6 separate regions of the Homo sapiens genome follow, and regions 2, 3, 4, 5 and 6 are each linked to region 1. The links are contacts of gene promoters, found by promoter capture Hi-C in blood cells and fetal thymus (Javierre and others, 2016). All regions are on one chromosome and are shown on one strand. Each heading gives the region's core, a stretch centred on a gene start or on the middle of the fragment in contact. The rest is flanking DNA. Distances are from core to core; before and after follow the strand shown. Region 1 holds the start of GPR155 (G protein-coupled receptor 155). Region 2 has its middle 47 kb from the start of CHRNA1. Region 3 has its middle 63 kb from the start of CHRNA1. Region 4 has its middle 79 kb from the start of WIPF1. Region 5 has its middle 61 kb from the start of WIPF1. Region 6 has its middle 31 kb from the start of WIPF1.

What was found. Contacts are between HindIII fragments. The CHiCAGO score rates a contact against its expected background, and 5 or more counts as called.
Region 2: a contact is called between a fragment that was not itself captured here and the fragment with the promoter of GPR155 in region 1, in 1 of 17 cell types (total CD8 T cells). The highest score is 5.6, in total CD8 T cells.
Region 3: a fragment that was not itself captured here is called in contact with the fragment with the promoter of GPR155 in region 1 in 9 of 17 cell types (naive B cells, total B cells, total CD8 T cells and 6 more); the score reaches 9.6 in naive B cells.
Region 4: a contact is called between a fragment that was not itself captured here and the fragment with the promoter of GPR155 in region 1, in 5 of 17 cell types (total CD8 T cells, naive B cells, non-activated CD4 T cells and 2 more). The highest score is 7.6, in total CD8 T cells.
Region 5: a contact is called between a fragment that was not itself captured here and the fragment with the promoter of GPR155 in region 1, in 1 of 17 cell types (total B cells). The highest score is 7.1, in total B cells.
Region 6: a fragment that was not itself captured here is called in contact with the fragment with the promoter of GPR155 in region 1 in 8 of 17 cell types (non-activated CD4 T cells, naive CD4 T cells, total CD8 T cells and 5 more); the score reaches 11.4 in non-activated CD4 T cells.

Annotation. Positions count from the first base shown.
Region 1 is chr2:174,485,192-174,489,674 of GRCh38, reverse strand. GPR155 (G protein-coupled receptor 155) reads left to right here and starts at 2,646. Exons shown (of 16, transcript NM_152529.7): 1 at 2,646-2,802. GPR155-DT (GPR155 divergent transcript) reads right to left here and starts at 2,287. Exons shown (of 3, transcript NR_183819.1): 1 at 2,259-2,287; 2 at 761-1,640; 3 at 1-667. RefSeq lists silencers at 2,506-2,685, 2,949-3,131 and an enhancer at 3,026-3,095. The HindIII fragment of the contact is 1,758 bases long and covers 1,865-3,622 here.
Region 2 is chr2:174,715,383-174,719,865 of GRCh38, reverse strand. It overlaps the pseudogene H3P6. Among named protein-coding and RNA genes, the nearest start is that of CHRNA1, 47 kb to the left of the region's middle. The HindIII fragment of the contact is 1,101 bases long and covers 1,759-2,859 here.
Region 3 is chr2:174,698,879-174,703,361 of GRCh38, reverse strand. No RefSeq gene overlaps it. Among named protein-coding and RNA genes, the nearest start is that of CHRNA1, 63 kb to the left of the region's middle. The HindIII fragment of the contact is 6,385 bases long and covers 1-4,483 here.
Region 4 is chr2:174,674,784-174,679,266 of GRCh38, reverse strand. It overlaps a transcript of WIPF1 not described here. Among named protein-coding and RNA genes, the nearest start is that of WIPF1, 79 kb to the right of the region's middle. The HindIII fragment of the contact is 4,768 bases long and covers 1-4,390 here.
Region 5 is chr2:174,656,640-174,661,122 of GRCh38, reverse strand. It overlaps a transcript of WIPF1 not described here. Among named protein-coding and RNA genes, the nearest start is that of WIPF1, 61 kb to the right of the region's middle. The HindIII fragment of the contact is 8,270 bases long and covers 1-4,483 here.
Region 6 is chr2:174,626,093-174,630,575 of GRCh38, reverse strand. It overlaps a transcript of WIPF1 not described here. Among named protein-coding and RNA genes, the nearest start is that of WIPF1, 31 kb to the right of the region's middle. The HindIII fragment of the contact is 4,377 bases long and covers 71-4,447 here.

The DNA.
Region 1 (4,483 bases), core at 1,397-3,896:
TTTTTTTTTTTAAAGACCAAGTTTTGCTCTGTCACCAGGCTGGAGTGCAATGGCACGATCTCAGCTCACTGCAACCTCTGCCTCCCGGGTTCAAGCGATTCTCCTGTCTCAGCCTCCCAAGTAGCTGGGATTACAGGCGCACACCACCACGCCCGGCTAATTTTTGTATTTTTAGTAGAGATGGGGTTTCACCATGTTGGCCAGGCTGGTCTCGAACTCCTGACCTCAGGTGATCCACCCACCTCGGCCTCCCAAAGTGCTGGGATTACAGGCCTGGGCCACTGCGCCCAGCCTAATTTTTGTATTTTTTGTAGAGATGGGGTTTTGTCATGTTGCTCAGGCTGGTCTTGAATTCCTGGGCTCAAGTGATCTTCCTGCCTTGCCTCCCAAAGTGCTGGGATTACAGGCGTGAGCCACCTTGCCCTGTCCTTCCTCCTCTTTAGCCCTATCAGTAACTGAGTCTCATCAGTTCTCCCTTTTCCTGTCTCTCAGGCCTATTCCATTATTTTTACTGTCATCACCCAAGAGTAGGTCTTCATTTCCTTATGTCTTGGTTCTTCTCCAAGTCACCACACTGTTTTTCTTGCCTTCAGTCTCTCTTTCAACTAATCATGGTACAGCTTCCAGATTACACACCCACAAATAGTGTGATCATTCTGACATGTTCCTGTGGGGAAAGAAAAGTTACATGTTTTACTGTGGCCAAAGGATAAGGTTCAAACTAACCCAAGGAACCTCCTACAGGTTGACCGTAACTTACCTCTGCAGGCCTATCTTCCAGTATTCCCCTGATAGTCAATGCTCAATAAGTATTTATTTAATTGAATTAATCTTCATACTTCCTAAACAAAAATCCTTTTAGCCTTGAGATAATTTAGATCTTCAATTTTTTTTTTAAGTAGTCAGGTTCAAGGGAAACAAAGAAGGCAGTTAAAAGTGAGGAAGACAGAGAACAAAGGAGAAGCAAAGAGAACTGGAGCAGGATCCATGCCTTTTATAGCTTTAATTTCTGCTCATTTTTCCTGCTAAGTTTCAGATCCTTTAACCTACCCTTAGCTTACTGTAATTTTTCTTAATAAGCCACACAATTTTGTATCTTTGCACTAAGATGGCCGAGATGATAGGAAGACACGGAAATTGCCATACAGAAATGTTTAAGATGCAAAGCAAGATAAAAGGTTGTAAACAAATGCTTGTAGATATCTTAAGTGGAAACATATATAAATATTTTAAAATTTGAAATAATTTTTATTTCAAAAGGCTAACTCAATTGCAGGATTTCTTCAGGTTTCAAAGTGGAGCACCATATTTGGGATACTATATATAGGTTTGTTGTCTGATGCCCATGGCAAGTTAATACACTGGGACACCAGGTTGCAGAAGAGAAAGAGGTTTAATCATAGGGCCACCAAACACAGATAGGAGGAAACCTCAAATTCGTCTCCAGGAGGACTTTGAGTCTCAGGTTCTTAAGGGTTTTAGAGTGGTCCCAAGTGTGGAGATCATTAATTGGCTGAAGAGTACAGGGCGAAGTCATGGGACAGCGAGATGAAGAAGCTGTATTCTCATGCTGATTCCCTTCTTCTGTGGCAGGGGTCTTCAAGCTGGCTGGCATCAGCTGTTTCGCTGGAATTTGGCGTCTGAAAAACATTTTAAGCAATTCTTAAAAAGCCTTACGACTCTTAACATCAGAAAGCCTATCTATAGGGACAACGGGATACAAATGTACTATCTAGCTCTACCCGACTTTCGGGTTACAAGGAAGTGGGTCAAAGTGTAGCCTGATTAATGCTTAATTATATTTTTGTCCAGAATTCTTATAAACCCTGTGAGGATAGTTTCAATACCTTTATTTCAAGAAGCTTTGGAAGTTTTCCATCAATGTAACCAGTTTCAGTATACTGAGTGGACATGCATGTAGTTCCCCACCCCCACCCCACCCCCGTACCGCAATAGAATAGAAGCAGTCATGGACGGGGCCCAGATTCTAAAACAAGCTCAGGGCTAAGGGTTTACATTTTAATCTCTTATGTAGGAACGTCAAGGTCACACTGCCTTGGTGAAGGTGGAAGGCAGGATTTTGACCCAGGTCTGATTCTAAGCCCTTGCTTTAAAACTCTATGCTATAAAAAGTCCTGGGCTAACCGGGAGCGAAACTGGCAGATCACACGAGGTTGAGGTTAAGCGGAAAGACAAGTCTGCTCTGCGTCTGTACTTGGGAAGAGGAAAAAAAACTGGACATCCCCCACGGCGGCTACCATTTTGTGGGAGCAGGGAAGCCGGAAGTCCCGCCCCGGAGGATCGCGGCTGGGAGGCTCCCAGCCGGCAGGGCGGGGCCGGGTACCCTGGGGCTCCGAGGCTGGAGGAGGGGGCGGGGACTGAAGGCGGGGTTGGGGAACGTGTGGCTCGGAGGCCCGAGGCTGTGGGTGGGGCCTGAGGGCGGGACGGAGACTCTGGGCTCAAGGCTCCTGGAAATGGGCGGGGCTCGAGGGCGGGAAGCGGCCCGTCTTGCTGGAAGTTCGGGGCTGGGGGCGGGGTCTGAAGGCGGGGCTGGGAGGGAGCGGGGCCTGAAGGCGGGGCGGGGGCGGGGCCTCGCGGCCGGCGAGGGGCTGAGCTGACAGGGCCGCATCGGCTTACCCCACCTTACTTTATCGGAACGTGCCTAAGCTGCTGCAGCTGGCACCCGGTTGCGCTCGGCGAAGAGGGCTGGGGGCGGGAGATGACGGTGGTCTTCTCCCTGCTTGGCACCCTGCGAGCACCAGCTCCCTTCTCCTCGCCACTCCAAGGTTGCAGACGAAGCAGGTGAGAGGGGCCCCTGGAGCGCGGACCTGCTGGGTCCTGGTTCTCCCTTGCGGGCACGGGGTACCCCTGCCTCTGCCCCTCAGGCCTGGGCACGTGGGCAGCCGCCGACCCTCTGCGCCCTGGCCCCGCGGCCCGTTGTCTGGACCTGCTGTCTCTGCCCCGCAGCGCCTGCCTGTGGAACGTGTGAGATCACCCGGGAAGGCTCGCGCGGGGGAGGGGGTGTCTCGTCCCCTCCGGAGACAGAACTGCCATCCCTAGTTTGGGAAGCTCCTCACTGCACGGGCGTCCACCCTGTCTTTCTTAGACTCTTCCCTTTATCCCGAGGGTACCCTCAGTATCTGGCCCTTCCGAAGGCTTCTGCCCAGGCACCTGGAGCACTGCGCCAAATTTTCTCCCTTACCCGTTTTTGGGGTATGTTAGTTACCATGACGTTGTGACTCCCGTGCCCTGGGAAGACTAGCGACCACCTTTTTCTTACGCCAGGCAAAGACCCCTGGCTGCCTTTCCACTTCCACAGCTGCCTTCCCAGGGGTTGGCTGGCAGCTGCTCTCCGAGCAGCCTATTCGGTTAGGAACTCTCTGCGCCCCTTATCTTGGAGGGCCACAGTCTGTCCCTGCAGACGAGGCAAGGAGGCAGTGCTCAGCGCTCCCTACCCTGGGTCTCTAGGGAGGACATTTGGCGCCCTGCAAGTAGGTAGGAGTGGGTGAATGGTGCGACTATTAATGTTGAAGAGTGCTCTAATAGTACCACACTGTATTACACTTATCCCACGGGATAAAGGATGTTGGATGTTTGAGAAATAGCCTGAGAGTTTAAAGCTTTCTCTATGAAGTTAGTCAACCCTCGCCTTCCCCCCGCATTTTCACTTAATAGCAGTTATTTACAGTATCAGTGGTTCGTTTATGTGATCTAAGCCAAATGTGATGTGGCTAGAAGCGGTTTGTAAGTACAGTAGCATTTCTTCAGTTCGTGCCTCAGCGAGTGGTCTTTTACTGTGAACGTGTTTGTTCTGTAACAAGCTTTGTTTTTATAGATAAAAAGGCTGGATGTAATTTTTTTTTTAAAACTTCCCTTGCTGTGGTTCCTGTTCATTTTAAAATATGCTTTAGAAAGCATATTATCTTCCCGTTTAAAAAAGATTAGGATGAAATGAAACTTTTAAAGTCATTTTGATTATTTTGACTTTACCTCAGCAGGTATTTCTTTTATAATACTGAGAAACGTTAAAAGAAACCTCATGGGGAGGGGCAGATTGCTTTTTTTTTTTTTTTTTCTTGAGACGGAGTCTTGCTCTGTTGCTCAGGCTGGAGGGCAATGGCAGGATCTCGGCTCACTGCAACCTCTGCCTCCCGGGTGCAAGAGATTCTCCTGCCTCAGCTTCCCGAGTAGCTGGGATTACAGGCATCTGCCACCAAGCCCGGCTAATTTTTGTCTTTTTAGTAGAGACAGGGTTTCACCATGCTGGCCAGGCTGGTCTCCAACTCCCGACCTCAGGTGATCCGCCCGCCTCGACCTCCCAGAGTGCTGGGATTACAGGCGTGAGCCACTGCGCCCGGCCCTTTTTTTTGTTTTGTTTTTTTGTTTTTTAATTTTTCAACGAATTGAAAGTTAATCTTGGACATTGCTACAACTATTTGACCATCACCCTGAGAAAAATGAAGAGCTCTGCCTTCACTGTTAA
Region 2 (4,483 bases), core at 1,060-3,559, 230 kb before region 1:
GAGCTCGGCGAGCGAGAGGCGGCGCTGGCGTTGGAGAGCGACGGCGGCGCGGCGGCGGCTGCGAACCTATACCAACATTTTCTACTAGTAAAAAAAAAAATCAGAAGCAACCCAAATGGCTACCACAAGTAAAATGACCCATGTGGAAATGTATTGTCTGAAACTCTACATCACGGGCTCTTGTCCCTGTGGCGTCTGTGGATGCAAAATATTAAGTTTGGTGCATTTTTCTGGGGAACAAGGAGCTTTTTGAGTCTCAAAGAGTATGGTGGTCAGTTTTATGTGTCAATTTGATGAGGCTCTATTGCCTAATTATTCAACTAAACATTAGTCTCAGAGTGGCTATGGAGCTCTTTTGTAGATGAGGTTAATACCTATAGTTAGTTGACTTTAAGTAAGTAAAGGAGATTACTCTTGATGGTGTGAGTGAGACTCATCTAACCAGCTGAAGGCTCTAAGAGCAAAAACTGACGTTTCCTGATAGAGGAATTCTGCTTCAAGACCTCAGCATCAATTCCTACCTGTTTCCAGCCTGCCTTACAGATTTCAGACTTGCCAGCTTTCACAATCATGTAGGCCAATTCCTAGAGATGAATCTCTTTGACATGCATTACATATCGCCCACTGGCTCTGCTTCTCTGGAGAACTCTGATAGATATGGGGGAAATCTGGAAATCCACAGTAGCAGGAGGAGGAGGAGGAGGTGAAACAAGTGGCCCAGAGCCACCTGCAGTGCTAGGAGGCGTGAGGTGGAATAGAATTAGGAGAATCAGGACCAGGACCCTGATGGGGCAACAGCAGCCCAGGCTCATGGCAGGAGCACAGGAAGACCGAGTTTCACAGGAACACTAGAGGAGGGATGAGGCGGGAACCCAATCCTGGGCCTGGCTTAGTCTCAGGAGCAATGCAGAGCATTGTCTCCGACAGAGGCAGCAACATGCCGGTCATGCTGGTTACTCATGCACTGAACCCCCCAGAGAGGCCACGACGGGGGAAAGGTGGTGATACAGCTTGCAGGGGGGATATGGCCAGGAGGGTTATGGTGGTGGTTAGGGGGTAACATACCAAAAGTTAAGTCCAGGAGGTTAATTCCAGATGAGTAAAACCAGGTGAATGTGGCCAGGTGGAGAAAAACATGAAGTTAAGACTAAGGTCAGGAGATTAAGGCCAGCTGAATAAAGCTAGGTAGTCAACATCAGGTGAGTAAGGTCAAAAGGTTAAGGCTAGGTGTGTAAGACCAGCTGGATAAGCCAATTGGGTAAGGACAAATGAGTAAGGCCAGGAGGTTACACAGTGTGTTAAGGCCTGGTGAATAAAGCCACGTAGATAACATTGGGTGGGTGAACCCAAGAGGTTCAGGCCAAGAGTTTAATGAGTCCAGGTAAGTAAAACCAAGGAATTAAGGCCAGGTGGGTAAGCCAGGTTGGTAATGCCAGGATATTAAAAACAGAAGTTTAATGCCAGATGAGTGAGGCCAGGTGGGTAAGGCCTACTTGATATTTGCACCTGTGTCATCCTCTCCTCACTGAACTGACATCTGTAGCCCTTAGGAAACTGGAAGTGATGGAGTGTGGCTTTTGAAGCTAGGATAGTTCCTGTTCTCTTGGATCACTCATTCCATGGAAAGCTGGCAGCCATGATGTGAGGACACTCAAACAGCCCTGTGGAGAGGCCCTGATGGTGAGAAATGGAGGCCTCCTGCCTGCGGCCACGTGGGTGACTCATCTTGGAAGCAGACCCTCCAGCCCCTATCAAGCTTTCTGATGACTGCAGATCTGGGCAACATCCTGACTGCAACCACATGAGCCATCCTGGGACAGATGTACCCAAACCAAGCCACTTCCAAATTCCTGACCCATGGAAACTGTGTGGGATAATACATATTTATCGTCATTGTAAGCCACTAAGTTTTGAGGTTGTTTAATTCATAGCAATAGATAGCTAATACAGTAGTTAGAATTTTTTCTAGAACATTAAAAAAATTGCCTCTTTTCATGAACCAGGTTAGTCATGAATATGTTTTTGAAGGGATCATGAATCCTACATAAATTAATTTAGTTCCATATGGAAAGATCATTGGCATTGTCACCTATAATCCTACCCTCCACCCCTAAAGCAGTGCCCCTCCAGCCTCCTCGTAATTGTGCTCGCTTTCCTAAACTTCTCCCCACCTCCTGGAAGCTAATCCCAAAGGACAATGAAATACTTTAATATAAAGACCTCACTGGCTTACAATGGTGAAGTACAGCAAGAACCAACTAAGTTAGCAGGAAGTTATTTTAGTCTTCCTTGAAAAAGAAAATCACTATGTTGCTGATTTAATTTCAATTTGTGGTCAACCACAACACTCCACTGAAGTTCTGTACAACCACAGTGCAGTTTAGTCAGCCTTGCCCCAATCTAAAACGTAGCACTTGCTTGTCATTCCATGCTCGCTGCTGTCCACCTTTGAAAAGAACCATTAACTGCTCCACCTCCTTCCCAAGGTGGAGCCCAAGCAGGGCAGTAACGTGGGGACCCTAGGCTTCCATTTCCGCCTGAAGAATGGGATAGCACACTAGCCCCCGCCCCGTGAAAATTAAGGTGCAATGTTTAAACATTTAAAACCCTGTACATGGGGTGACCAACCATCTGGGTCGGGACTTCTGGGGACAAAGAAGGGCTCCTAGGTTGCTGAAATTCCAGGGCTCAAATCAGGCAAGTCCCAGGCTACCTGTAAAGTGCAGGTTGGTCAATGGAAGCTGTTAATAGTAACACCATCCAGGATCTGTCTGCTAATGCAAGCGTCAGTGTCAACACTGTGTACAAGGGGTGCATATCGGCCCACTGGGAACTGCCTCCTCCCTGTGTGTTCAAGCTTCCTGCAGCAAAGCCTCAGGATCCAAGTCCCTGCTCTCCCAGGCAAAAGGCCAACATGCCAGTCTTCACTCGAGGGACCTTGCTAGTTCTCATCTCAAGAACCACCCCTGTCTGTAACTTCCCCCACATCCTGCCCTGTGTAAGTTTGGGTCTCCTCTAACACTTAAGATGTTAAGGCAGTCCAAGTTCATGCAACAAATTACATCATCAAACACAATTATCTGTACAATAATATACAAACACAGATTCAGTTATAACCCCTAAAAATCTTGTGTTTTTAAATATAAAGACATTCTTAAAGGTTAATATTTAGTGAATGCTATAAAACCTCAGCCAGGCACAGTGGCTCACACCTGTAACCCCAGCACCTTGAGAGGCTGAGGCTGGGAGAATTGCTTGAGGCCAAGAGTTCAAGACCAGCCTTGGCAACCTAGTGAGACCTTGTCTATACTAAAAGAATTAAAAAAAAAAATTAGCCGGGCATGGTGGCACACGCTTGGTCCCAGCTACTTGGAAGGCTGAGGTAAGCAGATCTCTTGGGCCTGGGAGGTCAAGGCTGCAATGAGCCATGGTCATGCCACTGCACTCCAGCCTGGGTAACAGAGCAAGACCCTGTCTCAAAAACAAACAAACAAAAAACCTCAATCATACCAACACAAATATTGACTTGAAAACATTATTACAGTTATACCATCTGAAACACGCCATTCACGAGTCTTTCTTTTTTATATTTCATAGCATGTAGAGTATAACCTAGAGGAACCTGATGACAGGCATTAAAATGCAAACTTTTATTTTTTCAAATGTATTAATTACTGAAGTTACTATTAATTTTAAAATGAGTGCACTGGACTTATTTACCTGTGAAGTCTTTATACTCAAGATACAAACTTATCTCCCAGTAAGGAAATGTCAAATTGCTAAGTACATTGACATATAAACCAATAGCAAACATACTCCTTGCTACAGCTAAACTTAATTTTTCTTAGAAAAACTATATCCAACCATTTGGCTCTGTAGTTAATGGAAATAAAAATTGATTATTCTTTTCCGTCTTATATTAGATAAAACTGTACTATTAGTAGCAGCAATAACAGTAAAACAAGTTTCCAAAACACATCGTGCTGCTAGACAAAGCTGAACTAATTAAAAATGAGGACTATAAAATTGAATAGAATGATATTACTACATTTAGCAATCCTTACTAGTGCTCACCATGTACCAGGTTTTACAAACGCAACTGATATAAGTTCCTTAGCAGCTCTAAGAGGGGTCCTATTACTGCCATCTTTTTTTCCTTTCTTTCTTTTTTTTTTTTTTAGACAAGCTCTTGCTGTGTCAGCCAGGCTGGAGTGCAGTGGCAGGATCATAGCTCACTGCAGCCTCAATCTCCTGGACTCAAGTGATCCTCCCAAGCAGCTAGGACTACAGGTGCATGCCACCACGCTTGGCTATTTTTTTTTTTTTTTTTTAGAGATGGGGTCTCACTATGTTGCTCAGGCTGATCTTGGACTCCTGGGCTCAAGTGATCCTCCCAGCTTAGCCTCCCAAAGTGCTGGGATTACAGGCGTGAGTCACCACACCCACCCCATCATTTTTTAAAATGCACAAGTGACCACGATTC
Region 3 (4,483 bases), core at 1,249-3,748, 210 kb before region 1:
ATTTGTTCTCTGAAAAGTTCAGCAGCATATCTGAGCTTTGTCTGCCCAAGACTTAGATACATTCATTCCAAGCATTTGTTTATGCCAGTTGTATTTGTTAGCAAGAGCCTGGAAAACTTTGCCAACAATCTAGGAGGTTGCATTGAGTGCCTTTAAATATTTTGTACATTCTCCAACCATTCTACTGAGATCAAAACTGGATATTATGGATATGGTTTATATAAGAAACTTGAATCTGTGAACCCACCCACTAAGAAAGGGTTTTCGGTCTAGAGCCAAAGGACTGGGGAATGGATGTACATTTGTTTGAGTTTAAAATGAAGCGTGTAGGTATGTGTCATTTTTATTATTTCCCATATTAACTCACTTTTTCAATAACTGATCATTTACAATCCCCCTTGCCATGTAAACATACAGTTGCTAAAAACATGGTAGAAAAAAATGACTGATATGAGGAAATACTGACAGTACAGCAAAGTGAAAAGGAAGATTTGAAATGGAATGTACACCTGTAATCCCAGCACTTTGGGAGGCAAAGGTGGGAGGATTGCTCAAGCCCAGGAGTTTGAGACAAGCCCTGGCAACGTAGTGAGACCCTGTCTCTACAAAACAAACAAATAAACAAAAAAGGAGCCTGGTGTGGTGGTGCCGGTCTGTAGACCTAGCTTCTTGGGAGGCTGAGGTGGGAGGATCACTTGAACCTGGGAGGTCGTGGCTTCAGTGAGCCATGGTATAACCATCACCACTGTGTAATTCCAGAAAATTTTCATCATCCCATCTCCATTATATTTTTTAAAGATTTATTTGGCTTTTTTTTTCCTCTTTGAGACAATGTCTCGCTCTGTCGCCCAGGCTGGAGTGCAGTGGCACGATCTCGGCTCACTGCAACCTCCCCAACCCGGATTCAAACGATTTTCTCCTGCCTCAGTCTCCTGAGTAGCTGGGATTACAGGCACCCACCACCATGCCCAGTTAATTTTTGTATTTTTAGTAAAGACTGGGTTTCACCATGTTGACCAGGCTGGTCTTGAGCTCCTGACCTCAGGTGATCCACCTGCCTGGGTCTCCCAAAGTGCTGGGATTATAGGCATGAGCCACCGCGCCCGGCCTGTTTGGCTTTTAATGAATCAAAGTACACTTGACTACATCCCATTAAATATAATTATTCTGTTTTATAAATACTAATAGTATTAACTTTGTGTCAGACACTGTTTTGAGTACTTTATAAATTACAAACCCCATGTGGAAAGTCTTAGCAGCAGCAGCAGCAGCTTCATGCTATTGATGAAGAAACTGAGACATGGCAAAGACAAGACTCTTGCCCAAGACTACACAGATAGATGTGGCAGAGCTGGGATTTGAACTCAAGACGTCTGAGTCCATACTCCTCAACACTCTCTGCTACCTCTTGAGCAGAGAATTAAAATTTGCCAACCAACCAACAGAAACAAACAAAAACACACAACCTTTAAGTACGAGTATGAAACGTCCCATTTTCTTCATCCTTTATTTATCAGTCACTCTCCCCTCGGCTGTGTTTTTTTTTTTTTTTTTTTTTCCAGACAGTGTCTCGCTCTGTCACCCAGGCTGGAGTGCAGTGGCACGATCTTGGCTCACTGCAACCTCCGCCTCCCGGGTTCAAGCGATTCTTCTGCCTCAGCCTCCTGAGTAGCTGGGATTACAGGCGCCCGCCACCACGCCCAGCTGATTTTTGTGTTTTTAGTAGAGACAGGGGCTCACCATGTTGGTCAGACTGGTCTCAAACTCCTGAACTCAGGTGATCCACCGCCTCGGCCTCCCAAAGTGCTGAGATTACAAGCATGAGCCACCACGCCTGGCCTGGCTGTGATTTTTTCTAAACACGAATGAACTGCTCACCACCAGCCTGCACTAGGCTCTGTTGGTCACATAGAAGTCAAGAAGGCATGGTCCTCGCCCCCAGGAAGTGAAGAGTATGAGACATCAATAGAAGGGAGAGAAGGTGATACATAAACATGGACATCCAGACATGGGAGGGTCTGTCTGGCCAATGGGGATCACAGACAGCTGTGACTTGTTCCAAAAAGAATCATTAATAATGATACCATTCTAGGGAGACCAAAGGAATTGTTTTCATTCTTCAAGATGAAAAATAGATTCCTTAACAAAGACTGAATTTGACTGTGATTTGGGAAAATGTTCTCTCACTTTAAGCTCTTTCTTTTCTTGATTTCATTCTCAGATCACTAAAGACACACTGATCTCTGTTTACCTTAGTAATGCGACCTCCCACATTTGAATGAACTATACACTGGCATTTATAGTGGGCTGTTTTTAGATGATAACAGCACCCTTTATTTGCTAGAAATGGTGACTCTGAACAATAGTATGCAGATTCGATTTTGGTAATTGAAGTTTTTTTAATGTACAATACTAGGGAGTTTGCTATGGAAAAATTTCTGAAGAGAATCCTTTAGTAAAGCAAGAAATTTTCAAAAATCATATTTTTGAAAATATGATTTTCAAAATCACCAGACCATGCGAGCAATTTGGGGCCTGCAGATGTGTCATCACCCTAATGTCCCTAGCCAATGAATGCTCAACAAATGTTGGAAAAATTAATTAAATTATTAATTTGCTTATTTTTTCCCCTAAGTTCTGATAGGTATGTCAGATGATCTTGATTCAAGGCACACCTGAATTTTGGCTACTTCATAGTCTATTCTTTGCAGCTCTTTGCAAAATAAATTGCACATTCTATGTCTGAGGCCTGGACTCAGCCAATATCTCAGGGAGACTTTGACCCTCATGAAAACCTGGGCACTCGGAAATGACCCTTGAATTGGCCTTGCTGCCCTCATGAGGTCCCAAGGCATTTTTATAAGCACAGCTTTCATCACTGGAAAATCCTGGGTTTATTTAAGGATCTGAAGAACACTCCAGACTGGCCTCGAGTATCTGTTCCTAAGACATTTAAAATATTATCTTTTTTCCCCTACTAATCATATAATTTAGGAGAAATTCATTTTGGAAAATAAGGTACTGCTGATAATACTTTTGTTGAGTTGTGATGGGAATTTTTGGTTGGTGGGCTATATTTGGGGAGGGTGGTTAGATAGCACAGTATACTATACCGTAGTTTGAGAAGAAATGGAGCAAACATACAGAAATATTTTAGTTGAATAAACTGGGCAGCAGCTCCCTCTTGTGTTGAACAGTAAGTACTACAGACACTTAATTAAAGTATGGGGAAGCATCCCTTCATGCACATTAACACTCCAAAACTGAGAGCTTTTCCCAGTAATTTTAAGTCCAAGAAAAGCATAGTGCTCAGTAACTTTTTTTATTTTACGCTATTTTATTTTAATTTATTTTAATCTTTTTGAGACAAAGTCTCGTTCTGTCGCCCAGGCTCGTGTGCCTTGGCATGATCATGGCTCACTCCAGCCTCAACCTTCTGGGCTCAAGCAGATCCTCCCACCTGAGCCTCCTGAGTAGCTGGGGCTACAAGTACGTGCCACCATGCCTGGTTAATTTTTGTATTTTTTGTAGAGACGGGGTCTCCCTATGTTGCCCAGGCTGGTCTTGAATTCCTCAGCTCAAGGGGTCCGCCTTCCTCAGCCCTGCAATGTGCTGGAATTCCAGGTGTGAGCCACCACGCTTGGCCAACTCTTGATTCTAATAGCACATCCACTGCCATTCATTTTTATTTAATTAATTTTTCCAACATTTGTTGAGCATTCACTGGCTGCCAGGAACTAGGGACATTAGGGTGATGACACAGCTGCAGGCCCCAAATTGCTCACACGCTCTGGTCCATCTAATGCCACTTCTTCTCATAATGCTGGTCCCCTGTCAACGGTGACCTGTGCCTCCTCAAACTGCCCCCTTCCTCTTCTCATCTCCCACCCCTACCCTACGACTAAGTCCAGCTCAGGCCTGTTCCCCCTGCCTCCCCTTGGTTGCAGCCAGTTGTTTTCTTGTCTTGTAACCCTTCCTGGATAATAACTCCTTTGAGGGCAGCAGCCCAGGGTCATCCAGTCTCAGTTTCCCTGCAGTCCCTCGTTCAGCATTAGTCCAGTTCATATTCAAATGCGTATTTGTTCCATTTAATTTAATTCAAACAAATAAAAAAGCAACAGATCCCCACAGCTATTAATAGCTTAAAAAGGGTTCCAATGAAGAACTGTATTTGACCTCTTTGTATGCATAACCATCAAAAGTGGAGTATGTAGCTATTGTTTTGTTGCTGCTGTGAATCCAAAATATCTGAGACAGGCCTCAACCAATTTAGAAATTTACTTTGCCAAAGTTAAGGATGCGCCCGTGACACAGCCTCGGTGGTCCTGACACCATATGCCCAAGGTGGTTGGGTACAGCTTGCTTTTATATATTTTAGGGAGACATGAGACATCAATCAATATGCGTAAGATGTATATTGGTTCAGTCCAGTAAAGCGGGACAACTAGAAGGAGGGGCGGGCTGGGGTGGGAGGGGTGTCTTC
Region 4 (4,483 bases), core at 757-3,256, 190 kb before region 1:
AAACTCCTGACCTCGTGATCGGCCTATCTCGGCCTCCCAAAGTGCTGGGATTACAGCCGTGAGCCACCGCACCCAGCCCTGTATCTTCAATTTTGAAATGAGAGTAACACCCCTTCTGTAAAAGGATTGTTCTAAGGGTCAGATGAGGTGATGTATGTGAATTACTTAGCAGATTGGCTGGGACAGTGTCACTGCTCAGTATTTGTGGACTATTATTATTATTAGCATTAGCATTACATTTATCAGTGTTAGCCTGAACAAAATACTGTTGGCATTCCTTTCTCCATAGGTAAATACCAAAAAAGCCTAAACGCAGGAACTGCTTTCGATGTAAATTAACATAGAACAATAACCCCTTAGCTGTCTGTAGTTTACCAAGTGTTTCATGTCGGTCATCTCATATTTTAACAGCCCCCAAGGAGAGATCTCACTGAAAAGAATCTTAGTATTGAGGGGCTGCCAGCCCGCAGTATCTGCTTACCCAGGAAAACCTACTCTGTTGAGGTTGTCTGGACAGATAAAGGATGAGGAAGCAAAAACCAGACTTGTCACTTTTCCTGGCCCTTTGACACTGGGAAATACCAGGTTAATGTGTTGTGGCAGTCACACAGTGGCCATCATCAGTGTAGAGATGACAGTAGATTAGATTGCATGAGATATCTGATGTAAAACACCCAATAACACTTGGCCCCAGGCCAGGCTGCTTTGGTCACAACTACAGCACCCACGCCATGGGGTGAGGGTACCACTGCTTCTTCTCGTGGCCAGGGATCAGAAACTTTTGAGTCCTAGGAAGCATGCTCAGCATTACAGAGATTGCAGGTCACAAATATTTGTTGAGAAGTCAAAAATAATAGACTATGCTAATAGTCAATAAAATAAAAATGTAGCTAAACAGGAGATACAATTAGCTACAATGTTTGTTAGCCTTGATAAGCAGGGTTCACATTGAAGGAATATGTTGCTATGTAACATTTTAGCATTGCTTACTATGGGTATATATATTTTTCTTCTTCTAATAAGCCATCTTTCCAGCATAACTAAATTTCTTCTTTTAATTTCCTTTTCTCTCTCAATTACATTAATTTAAGTGAATGAAATCTTCAAAACTTTCTATGATCTGGCCCAAACATTTAAAAATATCTTTCTTTCCTTTCTTTCTTCCTTTTATTCTCTCTCCCTCTTTCCCTTTCTGTAACATTATCACTTACTGTATGTTATTTGAGTCATTTGATATTCACTTACCCTGAGAGGTAAGTTCTGTTTATTTATGTGGAACCTGAGGCTTAGAGAACTTAGGTAACTTGCCCAAGGTCCCACAGTTAGTGACAGAGCTAGTATTCAAATGTGGAGCAGTCTGATTCCAAGCATCGCACCTTTAACCTTTAATTTCAACATCAGCCTTATTATGCACTACTTTTCATATACTGGGTTCCAGCTAAACTGCACTTTCCTTTCGTATGCTGTTGCATTGCCATTCCTCCTCTCCACACTGCCCCTTCTCTTCATTTGTTTGTTGAACGCTATAAGAATCTTCAGATTGATCATCATTGCTTGCTGAAAAGTCGAAATAATAGACTTTGCTGATACTCAGTAAAAGAAGAATGTGCTAAAATTAACAGGAGACACAATTACCTACAAATTTCACTAGTTTAGGAGCTTTGATAAGCATGGTTCACGTTGTAAGAACATGCTTCTTAACAAGAGCCAAAATGTTCTCTTCTCCATTTGCTGATTCTGCCTTCTCTTAGTTTCCATCGCTATTGTTCTGGGCTTCACATGTGGCTTGAAATTCACCCTATCCTGTATTGCAGTCACTTGCAGGCATCTCTTCTTCCTTGTTAGATTGTAAGCTCTTTCAAGACAATCACTTTTTAAAAAATCCTTTTGTATTTTCTCAAAACAGTAGATTCTTGTATAGTAGGTTGTCAATGTTTGTTAAAGGATGGTTTATTTATTCCACTCTGTAAGATTTGAGTGAATTTTTCATGAAAGCCAAACAGATCTTTGTTTTGCAGAAGAGTATCTTGTTTCTGAAGATGCCAAGAAACAAATTTGATCCTAAGAGTGGTCCTTTACGATAAGTGATGTATATAAGATGACTTTTTTTTTTTTGAGACAGTTTCTCACTCTGTCACCTAGGCTGGAGTGCAGTGGTGCCATCAGTTCGCTGCAGCCTCGACTTCCCAGGCCCAAATGATCCTCCTACCTTAGCCTCCCAAGTAAGCTCGGATAACAGGTGTGCACCACCGTGCCTTGTTTTGTTTTGTTTTGTTTTTTGTGGAAATGGGGTCTCCCTTTGGTCTTGAATTCCTGGGCTCAAGCGATCTTCCCGCCTTGCCTCCCAAAGGGCTGGGATTACAGGTGTGAGCCATTATACCTGGCCACAATGTGACATTTTAAAATTCTTATACATAATTAGCTTTTTATGTGTTCCAAATTAAAAAATAACCATGATTCTAATAATTAAGAAGTGGGAAGTTTTGTTCTTGTGGGGAAAGTAGAAGTTATTATTGTAGAACCTAAGAAGTGATATTTCCTGGTCTAATACCTGTATCTGATTCACTTCCACATAAATGAAGTTCAACTCTTTTGCCCAGGAGTTTTGCATCCCTTGCTTTGGCTGAGAAGAGGATAAAACCTAGAAAGAAGTCTAAGCAAGACCGGGTGTGGTGGCTCACTCCTGTAACCCCAGCACTTTGGGAGGCCAAGGTGAGAGGATGGCTTGAGTCCAGGAGTTCAAGAACAGCCTGAGCAGCATGGCAAAACCCCATCTCTACACAAAATACAAAAATTAGCTGGACGTCGTGGTGCACACCTGTAGTCCCAGCTACTCAGGAGACTGAGGTGGATCACTCAAGCCTAGGGAAGTGGAACTGTGATTACACCACTGCACTCCATCCTGGGCAACAGAGTGAGACCCTGTCAAAAAAAAAAAAAAAAAAAAAAAAGAAGGGAGGGAGGAAGGAAGGAAGGGAGGGAGGGAGGGAGGGATATCACACTGTATCCTATAAATATGTACAATTATTATATGTTTCTTAAAAATAATAAAAGCAGCCAGGTGCTATGGCTGAGCCCAGGAGTTTGAGAGCAGCCTGGGCAACATAGTGGGACCCAGTCTCTACAAAAAATACCAAAAAGAAAAAAAAAAAAGCCAGGCATGGTGGCTGTATGTGCCTGTAGCCCAGTTACTCAGGAGGCTGAGGTGGGAGGATCGCTTGTGCCTGGGAGATGGAGGCTGCAAGTGAGCCATGATCATGCCACTGCACTCCAGCCTGGGTGATAGAGTGAGACTCTGTCTCAAAAATAAATAAATAAATAAAATGAAAGCAAAAAAAAAAAAAAGAAATCGGGTAACATCTCTTCCCCACGCCTTCATGCCCATCCTCCCAACTCTTACGGCCCACCCTCCCACTCCTCCCCTCACACCCCCGCCTCCACCCCACACACAGAGGAAACAAGCAAAAACAACGTATTGTCTCTTAGAACTTGGAAAAGGTTTTTGTTAACCACAAGTCCAGGTGCTCAGTATTTGTAATTTATAGTCTTTGCTTCTATGTTTTTGCTGAAAATATGACTCTTTATCACTCTTTAAAAATTATATTGTACTGTTGACCAAGCATGGTGGCTCACACCTGTAATCCCAGCACTTTGAGAAGCTGAGGCAGGAGGATCACTTGAACCCAGGAGATCGAGACCAGCTTGGGCAACATAGCAGACTCTGTCTCTACAAAAAATAAAAATTAGCCAGGCATGGTGGCATATGCCTGTAGTCCTTGCTACTTGGGAAGCTGAGGCGGGAGGATCACTTGAGCCCAGGAGTTTAAGGTTATAGTAAGCTATGATCATGCCACTGCACTCCAGCATGGATGACAGAGCGAGACCTGTCTCTAAAAAAAAATAAGTAGATAAAAATAAAAATTACATTGTAGTTGTAAATTTATTCAGATTACAAAAGCATATGTACTTGCTATAAAGAAGACAAGAAAATGGAAATATATAAAGTTAATAAATTTCTCCTATCTCCCTTAAATACTAACCCTTTGAAGTAATCAATATTATCAATTCCTGAACTTTCTCCTTGCTTATATAACTATGTATAAGTATATATGCACATATATAGTTTTTTCTCCTAAAAATAGAATTATATTACTTATTAATACATTATGCCACAATTGCGTTTAATATAATAAAGCATCATAGACATTCTCTCCAGAATAAAAAACTCACTTATGGCATGGCTGCTTAATATTCCACAATTTAACTGTTCATATTGTGTCAAGTTTTCTTCTACTACAACCATTCTTCCTGGAACATCTGTGTGTGTGTGTGTGTGTGTGTGTGTGTGTGTGTGTGTGTGTGTATTTGAACCTGCCAACTTACAGAAGCTTTTTTATTTCTGTCTGTCAGAGTCTCTAAAGGAGTATTACTTTCCAAAAGCTGTAGTAATTCACAGTCTCACTGACACTATTTGAAAATATCT
Region 5 (4,483 bases), core at 1,281-3,780, 170 kb before region 1:
AGCCCCAGCACCAACTGATCAGCTATGCCTTGGGATTCAAAGGATGGGTGAATCAGTCTGCTGTGAGCCGGACTGCAGTGCAATGCAGGGAAGATATTGAGATGCCTTCTAGGCTGTGAGGCCTTGGACATGCCCCTCGCCCCTCTTGACTTCAGTTCCAGCCTCCGTCAGGTGCTTTCCAGCACCAGCCCTAGGCATCAGTGGTTGTTGCGTGATCGTAATAACAGTATTTATCATGCACTTTTTCTGTCCCAGGCTTTATTTGTATTGCACTCAGTCCTCTTGACAATGCTGTGAGAGTGGCACTGCTGGTAACCTTCTTTTAGAGTGGAGGAAACTGAGGCACAGAGTGAGTAAGCAACTCCAGTCCATAGCTAGAACATGGTTGAGCCAAGATTAAAGGCAGACGGTCTGATCCAGTCCACCCTCATACACTTACATCAACCACTGTACTGCCATCAGTGCAGTACCTCCCTGCTGACACACTGTGCCTCAAGCAGTGAGCAGATAGGGTGGAACTGTTTCCCCCGAGACCCAACACATTCTCCATTAGGTTGGTGTCTCCAGCATCAGCTGAGCCAGTGCTCCCTGTTCCCCCCTCCCTAGGGTGAACCCAGCTGTCCTGTCCTGGTGCAGATGTGAAAATCTCTGCCCTGGGAATGTTGACTACCTGCCAAGTAACAGTCAGTAGTAATAGTAGCAGCAAATGTTTATAGAGCACCTACTATGTATCTTGCTGCCTTTTAAAATTATTATTATTTTACAGATGGAGAAACTGAAGCACAAAAAATTTAGGCAACCTGCTTAGGGTCACGGAGCTAGTAAATGGCAGGACCGGGGTTTGGACCCAGGCAGTCTGGCCCTGGAGTCTGTTTAGAATACACTTCTTTATAGCGAAGAAGAATTCCACCCACTGTGGTTTCCACATGGTAGTCTGTGTTCTAATCCTGATAGCCACAGAATGGCCTAATTTTACTAACATAGGACAGACCTGTAAATATTTGAAGACAGTTATCACATCTCTCCTGGTTCCAAACCACCTTGCCAAGCTCTTGGGGAGCAGTTCTACCCTGGATCTCTCTGTTTCTCCCAGAAAAGCACAAAGAGTACTGTATAAATTACCATCCACATCCAGGTACTGGTGAGAGGCAAGGGCGCACTATTAATAATTACGCTGGAGTGACAAGCATAAATGAGGACTGTCCTGGGCAAACGAGGATGTGCTTGACCCTACTCCCAGGCCACGGTGGAAAGGCACTGCTTGGAATGCCTTCTGAAGATGTGTTCAAGTGGAATATAGGAAAGTTAAACTTACTATACGCAGATAAATTATGGATGGGAAATCGTTAGGTTTTAGAAGTCTGTCTGCTTTTAGTCAACCTTAGTGCAGTGGAAAGGTGCTCAATGAACGACTGAGTTCTGTAATCACTAATGTGATCCTGGATGAGTCATCTCCTACCCCAAGTTCTCAGTTTCCTCATTAGCAAAATAATGTTGATAATCCGGAGTCCCTTCCAGTCCTGAAACTATGATCCTCTGTCAACCTTCCCTACATAAGCAGTGGTCTGCATCCTCACCTAGAAGCCACCAACATGGAACTTGGAGTTTTTGATCTGTTTCCTGTGAGTTGAGCACTCGTATACCATTACTCGCTAAACCCTAGAGGTAGATTTTTAGAGTCCCAGCAGGATCACCCCTATCTAGCTTGCTTTTGGAGTGTTGATGAAATTGTCCCATGCACTATATTCTTTAAATAATGCTTCTCCTTGAGACACCCATGGATTTTGTTAATACACAAACAGGAAACAGGAAACAGAAAACTGAGCCTCCATTGAAAGTAGCTGTTGAGAGCTGAGTGTGGTGGCTCATGTCTGTAGTCCTTGCTACTCACACTCAGGAGGCTGAGGTAGGAGGATTGCTTGAGACCAGGAATTCAAGACCAGCCTGGGCAACATAGCAAGACCTCATCTATGAAAAAGAGAAACTACCTGTTGACTTTCTGAGGAATGGCTTTATTAAAAGATTTACATTTTATATTTCCTAAAACCTGAATCTGCAAATAATTTCAGTGTTTTACATAATTTATCTTACTAGATCCTCAAAAATGTCTGTGTACAGTAGATATTATCTCCATTTTCCAGATATTGAAACAGAGGCTTAAGGGCTGAAATGACTTGTCCGAGGACATCTGGTAGGTGGTGGTGGGACTGCAATTCACATTCATGTCTGCGGGATCCTTTTCAGTCATCTTTCTACTATTCCCATAGTTTTCATTTTGTGTATGTTTTTTGTAAGTGTAGAACTCATTTTTTTCAAGCAGAAACAAGGCTTTGCTGGATGCTGTGGGGTGTACCTGCCTTCTGTGGGGGGCTCCACCAGACCATCCCGCTATAGAACATGGTCTGAACAACCCTGCACTTTCTCTAAGCTGCCTCACACTGTTTTACCCATTTCAAGGAAATGGGATGCTCATGAGATTCTGCACAATTTCATTCTATGTGAGCTTGTTGCATTTAATTAACTTCACTATGATTCCAAGTCACTTGGGCAAATCATTACAGGGCTTGGAGCAGTGGCATGAACTCAGTCTTTGCTAGGAGCCTTGTTTCCCTTCTCCCTAAGGCTCAGCCATGACCCTCTCCATCCTGTTTCTCACCTTGCCCTGCTGAATTCCAGGCCCACCTGTATCAGTAATGGACTTGGGTCTTCTCTAGATGTTACTTGCTCACTTTTATCATTCATCTACTCACCCAATTAAATATCTACTAAATAAAATTATGTGAAAGGGTTCAGCCTAGTGGCTGGCGTATGAGCAGAACAAGTGTTCATCTGTACTACAGACAAAGCATAGGTCTCTTTTTTTGTGTGGGTGTGAGGTTATTGGGTTGACCATGATAATCTCTCAGGTTCCTTTTGTTGCAGAAACCCGCTGCTCCTAGGCCAGCTTCTTCTCTCTCCTAGAAGGCGAGAATTGGGTTCCTGGCTCATTTTCCCTGCCTGTGCATCCTGTCCTCTCCCCACAGCCTAATGCCTCCACCAGAAGTTACTCCACAGAAGAAGAAAAGTTAAAGAATAAGTTTTTCATTCTCTAGGGTTTCTAGGTCCCAGGGAACATCCGAGGGGGCATCTAGTCAAAGAGCACTTTTATCTAGGGAGAAAAAAAAGAATAGGAAATATTTCTCTCTCTCTTTTTTTTTTTTTTTTTTTTTTTTGAGACAGAGTTTCGCTCTTGTTGTCCAGGCCGAAGTGCAATGGCACAATCTTGGCTCACCGCAACCTCTACCTCCCAGGTTCAAGCAATTCTCCTGCCCCAGCCTCCCGAGTAGCTGGAATTACAGGCATGCACCACCACGCCCAGCTAATTTTTTATTTTTTTATTTTTTATTTTTTTTAGTAGAGATGGGGTTTCACCATGTTGGTCAGGCTGGTCTCAAACTCCTGACCTCAGGTTATCCACCTGCTTTGGCCTCCCAAAGTGCCAGGATTACAGGCGTGAGCCACTGTACCCAGCCTTCTGATTTTTTTAAGTCTAGCTTTTATTCTCAGCCATGTTTGAAAGGAGTTCATGTTCAGTTTCACTAGTGGACAGGACATCGACATTAATGCTGCAGGCCCCTTTTCTGTCACTTAGTTCTGGAGCTTTGAAAACCCTGGGAGCTGATTTTTCCCTTCCCAAGCATGCAGCATTCAAGCCGCTGGCTTGTTCCTGAATTCACTTCTTTACTTTAAATATCTATCACATAAAATTTATTAATTGGAGGTAGGTTTAAGAGGCATGCTATTCTAGACATACATTGATAATTTTACCTACTAAACATCATTCAGAAATTTCAAAGCATTAGTCCAGTATAATACGTTAGAAAATATTCTTGGCATTTTGTTTTATGGTTTTTTACAAAAGACAGATACTTCGCTTAGGCCATAGTTCTTACATAATGATTTTTTTCTTTCAGGAAGAAAAGCAATTATTAGAAGTAGCAATCCAAGATTCCATCAAGCCAGTATAAATGTAGCAGTCTGTCTTCTCATTCTGAGATGTGCATGCTAATGTTGCTAGCTAATATTTAGGATTCAAAATATAGTCTAGCCAGAAAATATTCTGGATTATGTAACAGTGTGTATCAGCTGTCTCTAGGGGGTGTATGTGCATATGTGTATAGTGTAACTGATTGGATGCCTGGGTTAAAGGCACTGAGTAGCTGTCTATTTTGTTTTTACTAGTTCACTGACAAGTCATTAACTGTCTGTATAAAAATTAACCATTCTGATCTTTGGATGGTATTTTTCACACTGAACTGAACATTTGGTGCCCAGTTAAGCCAGGAGTCTCCATAGTATTCCAGTTTCCCCTGAGCACAGCAGCCTCTATGCCCTCATCCACAGCTGTAGATCTGCTCTGCTGGCAAGTAAGAGGAAATAGAACAGCAGGGATAGGTTGGCCATGGGATTCTAAGCAGTTTCCATTTGTGTGTTAGTGTTCACA
Region 6 (4,483 bases), core at 1,010-3,509, 140 kb before region 1:
TTCTCCCAAAAAAAGGAACCAGAAAATGACAAGAAGAGTTGCATTTGTCTATGAAAGTGCATAGAAAGCTTTTCCTGGAAAAGAATAAACTGGGAAAAGATGAGTCCTTGAAGTAGAACCCTGTCATAGTGCAACAAACTGAATTTAAGAGGCATCTGTTCCCAGCTTATACAACATCCAGTACCAGTTCCACAGTAGGTATTCACATTACCACTCAGATTGTTATTTCTCAATGCTAATGAGAAGCTACTGCTTTGAGACTGTCTAACTAGCTAGACACTTACCAGACTTTGTTTTGATATTTTCTGGTATGAATTAGGCTTCCTTTCTAGTTGCGTTCATGCCCAGATTTTAATATGACATATTTTAAGTTAACTCATTGTATTGTTTTGTAACCTAGAGTGGCTTAAAAACAGAGTCATTTGTTATAGTAGGATATGTGTTCGCACACACAAATATACGTGTGTGTATGTGTGTGTGTATAATGGGAGGAATTCTCTAGAGCATATGTTTCCTAAATTAGAAGTCACTAAGTGATATCTTGGAGCCTACAATTATTTGGAATACTGCTATCTTCAGACTAGGAAGTTATGCATGTATTATACATAGAGATTCATTTGGGGGGTTTGCTAGTAAACTGTAATTCTTTCAGTAAGTCACTGCTTTACTGAATGGTGAAGATTTGGAATGTCTTCTTTGATTTCCAGGCCAACAATGGATAGATTTGGTCGTCCTTGAAGCATTTAGAGACCTGTAGAATGAACTTAACTTCTGAAAACTGGGTGCGGGGCCAATAGAGGGGCTGCTCAATACCTCACCAGCCTGCTACGCGGAAGGCTAGATGGAGGGCTGCTAAAGGAAGAGAACTGCTGTTCCACCTCCGCCTCCTCCCTGCAGTGTGGCTTCTTAGGCAAGTCCCAGTTTAGAAGTCATCTAACTAAGTGAACATTCTTGAACTGCCACCAGACCTCTCCTAAAACTTTTTTCTAAGCAAACAATATATGCTTTCAGACTTTCTCTTCTTCCCTCTTCTTTTCCCCTTCTCTCCACTCCCTACTTTCGCCTCTGCCATTTCATGCCCATCACCTTGTGAAAGCTCAGGGCAGAATTTACCTACATGGACAGCATGCTTCCTTCCCTGGCCCTGTCTCTGAGCTTTTTATTCCTCTTCCCCAGAGCATTTAATAGCCTTCCCTGCAAAACAGAGGAAAGTCAAGGCTGATGAGCATAGTTATCAGAATAAAACTGTTTAAGAGGTTTTATGTAAGAAAAATAATTTGGAAAATAACAATGTTTTTTATAAGATCCTGATGAATCAGGAAGGATAAATAGTTTACTTTTTTTTGATAGAGAGAGACTCACTATGTTGCCGAACTCCATCTGGAGTGCAGTTGCTATTCACAGGTACAGTCATGGCACACTGCAGTCTCGAACCCCTAGGCTCAAGCAATTCTCCTGCCTCAGCCTCTCTATGTTTTAAAGACTTCCTTTAAGGGTCCATAAGGAGGTAGCTGTAAGGGAAGGGGAACTAAAAAGGCCAGAGGATAATTTTCTCTAAAAGGCAAAAATGTTAGGTTATTCAAAAACTATTTTTTTCCTCTACTTCAGTGCCAGGAACATCTGGCCTCAGGAAAAGTTTAGGAAAGATGCTGTTGTCATCATTTAAATCTTAAAGAGGTAGGAAAAAAATAATCTTGGATTTTTTACAACTAGAAGGGACCTTAGAGAGTTATATCCTTTTATTTTTAGATTTGGAAACTAAGGCCCAGAGAGATTAGGTGATTTGTCTATGGTCAAAGTAGCTCATTAATGATGGTAGAGGGTGCAGAACAAGGCCCCTGGCTACACACTGGTGACATAAGGGGGAAATGTTGAAGGGCCCCAAGGACTTGGGAATCTGAAAGTAGGTGCACCTCTGGGATCTACAGAGGCCAGATCTGTGCCTAATGGGAGTAGAGTAACAGATTGAAGATTTGAGGAACTTCCAGAACTCCAGCAAAGTGAGCTCTACGTAATTCCTGGAAGACAGCACAGCCATATGGTTGGAATTTTGTGGGTAGAAAGCTAATCCATCCTACCTGGAGAAAGGTTGTGGGCAATGAACTGGTCCTCATGGAGCAGAGAGGAAAAATTTCCAATGGTTGCCCAGTATTGGCCTGGAAAATAGGTCCTGAATCTTGTGGACATGAGTGTGGATTGGTAAGTATGGATGAAGATCTTTTGTGAAGTGTCTGTTGTGATGCATTATCAGGGCTCACCACGGCATGGATTAAGCAGTCCTCAGAAGGGTTAGCCATCCTTAGCACTGATTCCAACACCCCTGAACCACATTCTGAATGCTAAGTCAACTTCCTGGGTACCATTAGCTCAGAAAGGTATATTCTGGACAATGGACATGGTCACTGGAAAGAAATGGCATTTTTTTGTAGATTCCGGGGTGCCCAGCAGCCTCTTGTGAATTTTTACTCAGACATTCTGAGTCTGATCCCTCTGGCTCCCAGATAAAAGGGAGATGTGGGGACCTCTATGATAACGCTCTGTGCTTGATGTAGTGTTCTACCCCTCCCCAAGAATGCCACTCTTAGGGGTCTTTTCAGGGTAAACAGCAGCCTCTCCTAAGTGTCAGGCTTACTTTGTTGTTGCTCCTCTTCAAAATGCCACAAACATTATTAAAATTAAAAAATGAGATGTAATACATGGGTCCTGCTATTAGAAATCACAAGGCCTGGCCAGGTGTGATGTCTCATGCATGTAATCCCAGGACTCTAGGAGGCCGAGATGGCCTTGAGGATTGCTTGAGCCAGGAGTTCGAGACCAGCCTGGGCAACGTAGGAAGACCCCATCTCTACAAAAAATTAAAAATTAGCCAGGTTTGGTGGCATTCACCTGTGGTTCCAGCTAATCAGGAGGCTGAGGCAGGGGGATCACTTGAGCCCAGCAGGTCAAGGTCAAGGCTGCAGTGAGCCATGATCACACCACTGCACTCCAGCCTGGGTAACAGAGGAAGACTGTCTCAAAAAAAAAAAAGAAAGAGAAAGAAAGAGAGAAGGAGGGAGGGAAGGAAGGAAGGAAGGGAGGAAGGAAGGGAGGGAAAAAGAGAGAAAGAAAGAGAAAGGAAGAAAGAAAGGAAAGAAAGAGAAAGGAAAGAAAGAAGGAAAGAAGAAAAGAAAAAGAAAAGAAAATCATAAGACCTTTTTTTGGACACTGGATGTTTTCAAAGTTTTTTCTCTTTGTTTTTCTTGTTTGGCATTTTCCCTTAATTCAGATTTATTTATTAAGTATCTTCCATGTGGATCTTATATTCAAGTTAAAAGATGTGGACAAAAAACAATAAATCTAAAAAATACTAGGTGATGTATATTAGGAATTTAGAAGGGATACATGCTGTGGAGAAAGAAGTCTAGCGGGGCTAGGAGGAGCAGAGCACAGTGGTGGAGGATGGGTGTAGGTGAGCTGGTAAGGGCAGCTGTCATGGAGAAAATGGTGAGATAATTCACCATGTAGCCACATGGGGAAAGCCTGAGGACGCAGAAGCGGAACATGCCTGGAGTATTCAAGGAGTAACATGGAGCCAGTAATTTGGAGGTGAGATCCTGGAGGGCCATGTTGGTCATGGTAGGACTCTGGCTTTCCCCCCAGAGTCTGGGAGTGAGGGGAGGATTTTGATCCAAAAAGAGACAATGATCTGACTTTAAATTTAACAGCTCCCTTTGGCCACTGTATTGAGAATAGACTGTGGGAGCACAAGAGTGGAAGAGAAGGACCAGTTAGGAGGCTATTGAAATACTCCAGTGAGACATGCTGGTGCCATGGACAAGGGTTAGCAGTAAAGATGTTGAGGAGTAATTAGAGTCTGGTTATTTTGAAGGTAGAACCAGCAAGATTGGCAGTTGGATTGAAAAATAATAAGCAAAAGAGAGGAGTTAAGGAAAATAGGAAGTGGCCTAAGTGTAGTAAGAATAGAAATGCCATCAGACTGAGATGGGGCGGGCTGTGAGTACAGCAATTTGGGGTGGAGGGGAGATACTAAGACTTTTGTTTGGGATATAGTGAGTTTGAAATGTCTATGAGACAGACAGCCAAGTGGAGATGTCAAGTGGGCAGTTGGATATGTGTGTCTGAATATAGGAGTTAGAATCCTAGAAAAAAGTCATCTTTCTTAATGGTCTTGGTTTAATATCACTCCTAAATTCATCTGTAGCTTCTAAAACTTCCATTAAAAACATGGAATGTGACTCTGCATAGTGATGTGTTCACTGGTTTGATTTCTGGGACTGAAATCAGAGAGAGAATGTTCTTTTGGGTAAACAGAAGTGAAGAATCAGGATTCTTGTTTCGAACTTTGCTTCTTATTGCTTAAAACTTAATGATTCCATAATTCTTATTTTAAGAAAAAGAAGTTTTTTTAAACAAAATGAGCAAAAGCAATACCTTAACAAATCAAGCTTTCCTCTGCTTTTATGTCAAGGTAGTTGAGAGTATT